Regions from separate parts of the Homo sapiens genome. Here region 2 is linked to region 1. The links are contacts of gene promoters, found by promoter capture Hi-C in blood cells and fetal thymus (Javierre and others, 2016). All regions are on one chromosome and are shown on one strand. Each heading gives the region's core, a stretch centred on a gene start or on the middle of the fragment in contact. The rest is flanking DNA. Distances are from core to core; before and after follow the strand shown. Region 1 holds the start of CZIB-DT (CZIB divergent transcript). Region 2 has its middle 2.0 kb from the start of CC2D1B.

Region 1 (3,582 bases), core at 130-2,629:
AAGGGTAAGAACAGTGGGAGGTGGGCAGGCTCATGATCTACCTTCTTGATGGCAATCTCACTTCATCCCTAACACCTGCCCCAACAAGGACAAAACTAGAACTATCTCTGGGCAAAGGATAGGTAAGGCTGTTTCCTATGCCGGCGTGCCCACCCTCCTCTATGAAGTGCTCAGTGTGGCCGGGGATTCAAGGCACCTGTGGTGCAGAAATGGTTTCAGCGGAGGTGAGGGGGGGGAATATGGAGAGATTTGTTAGAAGATACAAAATTACAGCTATATGGGAGGAATAAGTTCTAGTGTTCTATAGCACTGTAGGATGACTATAGCTGACAATAATATATAGTTTCAAATAGCTAGGATATTAAATGCTCCCAACACAAAGAAATGATACACGTTTGAGGTGAATATGCTAACTACCTTGATCTGATCACAATACATTACATTTATCGGAACATCACTATATACCCCATAAATATGTACAATTCTGTGTCAATTAAGAAAAAAAAAGAGAAATGGCCTCAGCAGGCCCCCGACCCACTCTGCTTGGTTAGCTTTATGTTCCCACAGGCCCTGTATGTCACTGGTATAAGCACTTATCACTCTATTGTTACTCTATTTTTCTGTCTCCTTCACTCGATTCCGCTTCTTCAAGCCAAAGAACAGATTCTCCCAAGTAAGCCCTGGTATTCAGGCTTCAAAATCCTGGGAAACAAAAGTAGTCCGGAGGCAGCTTCCCGAAAAACAGGGCTTTTGAGAGGTACAGAAGGATGCTGGGATTTTTGACCAGGAGTAAAACAGAGCAGAAGCTCTGGGATCTGGAAGAGTGAAGAGCCTCGAACTGCTGGGGAAGGGGAGGCCTCTGTAGACCATGCCACTAGGGTACCAGCTTTACCAGTGTGGGAGGGCTAAGGAAGGGTGGATTACGCACAAAATTAAACTATTTCACAATAAAGAAAACCAAATCAATAAACGAAAGGCGAACTATTCACCTTATTAAATAATCACAAGCGTCCCTTCAAGTAGCATTTCGTTTAGTGTCCATTTACAGACCACGAAATATTTAACACAGGGAAGAACTACAAAATGAAGCTTTCCAAGACTGCCAATTAGAGATAAACCAATACACTTTAATAGAAAGCAAACGTAAAATTCTAACTAGGAAAACCCCGAACACTTAATGTGCCTGGTTAAATATTTTCTCATACTGCCGGAGAGAAGGCTCCGGTTCAGCACTGAGATCAGGACGGGCCTCCTCTCCCCGGGCCCCGCCCCGGCCGCACCTTCAGGTACCACCGGAAGTCCTCGCCCACGGGCCGGAGGTTGGTGATGTTCTCCAGCGTGGCTTTGAGTTGCAGCGCGATTTTCTGAGGGGGAGGGCCAGAGCGACTGCGTCAGCCGTGCCTGCGCAGCCCCACGCCTGCCCGACCCTCCCGCATTCCCAGCCGTGGGTGCCACAGGGAGACACTCCTTCTGCCTCCTGCTCCTTCAGCGCGCACCCACTCGCTTCATCTCCTCCTGGCGCGAGCTGTTGCCTCCCAGACCCTCGCCACCTCCCCTCCGTGTCCCCGCGGCGGGCGGCCTCCCCTCACCCCCATGGTAGCCCTCTCCGCCCGGTGCTGGCTGCGGCCCTTGCCGTTGCTTTCCGGCGCGTCGTAAAAGGCGGGTGCCGTCTGCGCACCCTCAGTAGGGCGGGGCCGGGGCCGGGCCGCGGGGCAGGGACTTCTGCGCGCCGCTGCTCGCCTGGCCCACTGGGCTTTTCGCATCTGGGGATCTGGGGCCAGTGGAGGTCAGCCAGGTCCGCGAGCAACCTGTGCTCAGGCCAGCGGAAGCCTGACTCCAGGATTCGGTGGTGCCACAGACAGTTACTGAACGCCAATTTTGTGCCTGCTTTAAGCGAACAGGACAGTTCCTGACCCTCAGTTCTTTCCAGGCTCTTCACTACTCTGCCTGCCCTGGAACTTCTCAGATCACGTCAGCTCCCTCTGCCCAGGGGAAAAGCTACAAAAGGAAGAGTTCCAAGACTGCCAAATAAAGATAAACCAATACGCTTTAAAAAGTAGAATGTATTGGTTTATCAGATTTGGGGATGATGCCTTTCTTCAAACTGCCCTTTCCTGTTTCACCCAAGAGACCTGGTTTCTAGGCCCTTCTCCAGAGTTTGCCCTGTGTCCACATCCTTCTCACTGTGGTCCTTGCGACTGGACATTCCCCTTCAGCTGGCTCTTTTTTGGGAGCCCACCTGGCTTATCCTTCTCTCATAACGTTTATTGAACTTTATTTTACCTGGCCTCCTGTCCAGGCTACATCTGAGACCATGCAGGAGCTGTGGAGATTAACGGTAAAAGGAACAGCACATTCAAGACTCTTCTAGGAGGTGGGGCAAGATAGCCAAATAGAACCCTCCAGTGATCCTCCTCCTCCTCTTCCCTGGCAGGAACACCAAACTGAACAACTATCCACACAAGAAAGCACCTTCATGAGAACCAAAACTCAGGTAGCAATCACAGTAGCTGGTTGTAACGTCACATCAAGATATAAGGCAATGGCTGGGTGCGGTGGCTCACACCTGTAATCCCAGTGCTTTGGGAGGCTGAGGCGGGCAGACCACCTGAGGTCAGGAGTTTGAGACCTAGCTGGCCAACATAGTGAAACCCTGTCTCTACTAAAAATACAAAAATCAGCCGAGTATGGCAGTGCACACCTGTAGTCCCAGCTACTCCGGAGGCTAAGGCAGGAGAATTGTTTGAACCCGGGAGGTGGAGGTTGTAGTGAGCTGAGATCATGCCATTGCACTCTAGCCTGGGTGACAGAGTGAGACTCTATCTCATAAAAGAAGAAAAAAAAAGGAACAAGGCAATGAAGAGGGTAGGAAAGACAGTCTTGAATTGCTACCACCACCCCTCCCTCATCCTCTGGCAGCACCTGGCTGCCTGGCATAGAGAGAGAATCTGTGTGCTTATGGGACTTTGCATTGGAACTGAGTTTTGCCCTGTCACAGTGGAAAGCAACTCAGGGCAGAATTCAGCTAGTGCCCACAGAGGAAGCACTTAGAGAAACCCTAGCCAGAGGGGAATCATCCATCCCAGTGGTCAGGTTCTGGCGAGCCCCACCACCACTGGCTAAAGTGCTTCAGGGTCCTAAATAAATTCGAAAGGCAGTCTAGGCCACAAAGACTGCAATTCCTGGGCAAGTCCTGGTGCTGTGCTGAGCTCAGAGCCCGTGGACTTGGGGTGCACACAGCCTAGTGAGATACCAGTTGGGGAGCCAAAGGAGTGTTTATGTCACCAGTCCCCCAACCCCAGGCAGCACAGCTCACGGCTCCAGGAGAGACTCCTTTCCCTTAGAGGAAAGGAGAGGGGAAAGTAAAGAGGACTTTGTCTTACAGCTTGGATACCATCCCAGCCACAGTAGAATAAAACACCACGCAGAGTCCCGAAGCCCCCTTGCCAGGCTCTATCTCCCAGATATTTCTAGAGCTACCATGGGCCAGAAGGGAACCCGCTGCTTTGAAGGAAAGGACCCAGTCCTGGCAGGATTCATCACCTGCTGACTAAAGAGCTGTTGGGCCTTGAATAAACATTT
Region 2 (3,814 bases), core at 679-3,178, 850 kb before region 1:
TGACACCGGGGCGGGGTTCGCAGCGCGCAGGCGCGTTCGGGTAGGTAGCGCAGGACAGGAACTCTGGGCGGTTCCGCCGGGGCGTCCACCGGCCGGCTCCAATGAGGTCGCTGCGCCCAGCCCTCGCCCACTTGCAGCCTCTCCACCGAACCTCCTCCCTCACTCAGCCCGAGGCGCTGGGCGCTCGCTCGCTCGCTGGACCTACCCCGCCTCCAGCCCTCGCCCCGCCCCACCGAGCAAGAGGGCGGGGCCTACCCAAGCTCCGCCCTGGAAGAGAGACAGGGGCGGGGCTCACCTGCTTGTCCATGTCCTTTAAGCCTGGGGAAATGGAAATGGGGCCCACCATATGTTTCTTAATAATTCAGCACCTGAAAGTATCCTTTTCCGGTCCGTTGAAAACTTCAGACAGGCAGAGCTCGCTGCACATCTTAAATACTTTACAGAGTCTAACACTAAGTTCTCACTCGCCTACCCTGCTGTGCAATCAAATGGCATGGAGGATATTAAGGAGAGAAACGGAGTATACCCGTTTTCTGCCAAGCTTGTGTCAGTCACTTTTCATAATGGAGCTTATACCAGTTCTCAATCCTGCAAGATGGACATCATCTCTAGAAGAAACGGAGGCTCAGAGAGAATTATTTGCCCAGGGAAATACAAAACCAACCTCTTTAGCATCAGTAAATATGCTCTAGTCTAGTTTTCTAAGGAAAGCACGTTTCTCCCTGCGGCTTGCAGAGTCCAGTTAACAAGAGATTGAGCTCAGGAGTCCGAGACCAGCCTGGGCAACATGGCGAAACCCTGTCTCTACAAAAAATTACAAATATTAGCCGGGTGTGGTGGTGCGTGCCTGTAGTCCTACCTACTGAGAGGCCGAGGCAGGAGAATCGCTGTGGCCCCGGAGGTCCAAGCTGCAATGAGCTGTCAACTGCACTCCAACCCGGGTGACAAGGTGAGACCCTGTCTCAAACTAAAACAAACAAAAAAACCGAGAGCGGAGTAATGGGGAAGTGGCCAGATTCCCATCTAAAGTAACCACTTCGATTTTGGGGGGAAAGAGAACGGCTTAAAAGGAAAATTTGATATGGGAAGCATGCAAGAATTGTACAGAGTACAACGTCTGTGTGTCTTGTTCTGGTGGCTATCTTGGGTCCCAGCCTACCTGGAGCGTGGGCTGGTCTCATCTCCACAATGGCCCCGCTGTTGACTAGCCACCTTGAAGTAATCTTTGGAATTTTGCAGCTGTGTCTCCAGGCTTGGTTTGTCTGTCTCAAGATTAGCCCTTGGAACTTCTCAGAAGGCAGATAATTAAATACTAGCATACAGTAAGATAAATGTGAAGGGAGTATATACAGTGAGAAAGGGAGGGATATGGGGTCTATTTTACAGCTAAGGGAAAAGGCTTTTGCAGTTTGCTTCAAGGTTGTATCTTGAAACCCAAGAGAAAGGAAAAAAAGTTTTAAAATGTATTTTAAAGTTAAACTGCTGGATTAGTTTCTTCTGTCTAAAACATTGCCATCTCCTCTCCTGCCTATGCCTTGAACTTTTAAATTATGTTTTCTAGTTAGCGATCTCCCAGTTTACTTGGACAAAGGGCTTTTCCATCTCCTGATTGCTTACTTTTTTTCTTTTTTTTTTTTTTGAGACAGGATCTCATTCTGTCACCCAGGCTAGAGTGCAGTGGTGCGATCTCCACTCACTGCAACCTGCACCTCCCAGGCTCAAGCAATCCTCTCACCTCAGCCTCTTGAGTAGCTGGGACCACAGGCACGTGCCACCATGCCCAGCATTTTTTTTTTTTTTTTTGTAGAAACATGTTTTTGCTATGTGCCCAGGCTGATCTCAAACTCCTGAGCTCAGGGGATCAACCCACATCAGCCTCCCAAAGTGCTGGGATTACAGGCGTGAGCCACCATGCCCTGCCCATTACCATATTTAAATTGAGATTTCACATCCATATTTCTCATTCCTTTTAAAATTATTTAAAAATTTTTATAATGAAACATTTAAGATATAAACAAAGATACACAATATTTAACATTTACTAGAATGCAAGCTCCAGAAGGAGAAATTTTTTTATTGCTTCTCCAAGTGTCTCGTGTCTACAGCAGTGCATGGTACATAGTAGGCACTCAATAGTTCCTTGTTGTGTGAATTAACTACATGGACATCTATTACCAGTTTAAGGGAAAAAAAAAAGCAGGTGAGCGGGCGCGTCCCCGCGACCGCGCTGCCTCCCCGAGGCGGTTCACGTAAAGCCAGCGAGGCCCTGCCTGCCAGCCGGGAAGGAGGCGTGGTTATGGAGCTGGCGGCTGCAACCCCGGGGCCCGCGCCGCTGCCTAGCGCTTCCCGGGGGCTCTTTGGGGACGCGCCCCCCGCCGCGGCTCGGGGACCCGTAGAGCCCGGCGCTGCGCGGTTGGCCCTTCTCCCGCGCCCCGCGCTCACCCTCCTGCTCCTCCTCATGGCCGCTGTTATCAGGTGCCTGGAGCAGGCCTAGACCACCGACTGGAGGGCCACCCTGAAGACCATCCGGAACGGCGTTCATAAGATAGACACGTACCTGAACGCCGCCTTGGACCTCCTGGGAGGCGAGGACGGTCTCTGCCAGTATAAATGCAGTGACGGATCTAAGCCTTTCCCACGTTATGGTTATAAACCCTCCCCACCGAATGGATGTGGCTCTCCACTGTTTGGCGTTCATCTTAACATTGGTATCCCTTCCCTGACAAAGTGTTGCAACTAACACGACAGGTGCTATGAGAACTGTGGCAAAAGCAAGAATGACTGTGATGAGAAATTCCAGTATTGCCTCTCCAAGATCTGCCGAGAAGTACAGAAAACACTAGGACTAACTTAGCATGTTCAGGCATGTGAAACAACAATGGAGCTCTTGTTTGACAGTGTTATACATTTAGGTTGTAAACCATATCTGGACAGCCAACGAGCCACATGCAGGTGTCATTATGAAGAAAAAACCGATATTTAAAGGAGATGCTGACAGCTGGTGACAGATGAAGACGGAAGAACATAACCTTTGACAAATAACTAATGTTTTTACAACATAAAACTATCTGATTTTTGTGAAAAAAGAAAAACAAACATAGTTGGAGCTACCTGTACATCTCCCATATTGCAACACCTCCCTTTCCCAAAGATGTACCCATTATCCTAAATTTAGTGTTTATTATTCCTGAGCATTTCTATTTCTGTGTAGGTATCCTTAAGCAATACATAGTATTTTTTTTGCCAGCTTTTAAAAATTATATCATTGGTTACATACAGTGTAATTCTTCAACCTTTTTCTACTCAACCCTGTTTGTAAGCTTCACTCAAATTGACATGTATACTGTATCTAGTTAGCTGATTTTCATTTCTGTTATGATTCCATAGCATGAAAATAAGTCACTTTCCCAATGGCTTACCATTATAGAGTGCTATGAACTTTTTGTATATGACTCTTGGTGTACGTATGTGAATTTCTCTAGAGCATATACTTAGGAATGGAATTGCTGGCTGCATTAGTCAGGTTTCTCTAGAGGAACAGAACTAATAGGATATATATATATATATATGTGTGTGTGTGTGTGTATATATATATGTGTGTGTGTGTGTATATATATGTGTGTATATATATATATGTGTATATATATATATAGTCCCACAATAGGCTGTCTGCATGCTCTATTAACCATCACACTGGCTGATATGGTTTGGCTCTGTGTTCCCACCCAAATCTCATCTTGAATAGTAATCCCATAATCCCCATGTGTCCTGGGAGGCATCTTGTGGGAGGTAATTGAATCATGGTTTCCTTCAT

Evidence for each region. Contacts are between HindIII fragments. The CHiCAGO score rates a contact against its expected background, and 5 or more counts as called.
Region 2: a contact is called between a fragment that was not itself captured here and the fragment with the promoter of CZIB-DT in region 1, in 2 of 17 cell types (fetal thymus and monocytes). The highest score is 5.6, in fetal thymus.

The regions. Positions count from the first base shown.
Region 1 is chr1:53,218,981-53,222,562 of GRCh38, forward strand. It overlaps CZIB-DT (CZIB divergent transcript), which reads left to right and starts at 1,380. Exons shown (of 1, transcript NR_185918.1): 1 at 1,380-3,582. CZIB (CXXC motif containing zinc binding protein) reads right to left here and starts at 1,654. Exons shown (of 8, transcript NM_017887.3): 1 at 1,590-1,654; 2 at 1,281-1,364. The coding sequence starts at 1,595. RefSeq lists an enhancer at 1,055-1,556 and silencers at 1,426-1,795, 1,926-1,985. The HindIII fragment of the contact is 4,059 bases long and covers 1,088-3,582 here.
Region 2 is chr1:52,366,263-52,370,076 of GRCh38, forward strand. It overlaps the pseudogene PLA2G12AP1. Among named protein-coding and RNA genes, the nearest start is that of CC2D1B, 2.0 kb to the left of the region's middle. RefSeq lists silencers at 1-322, 2,305-2,404, 2,465-2,544 and an enhancer at 2,135-2,184. The HindIII fragment of the contact is 2,779 bases long and covers 540-3,318 here.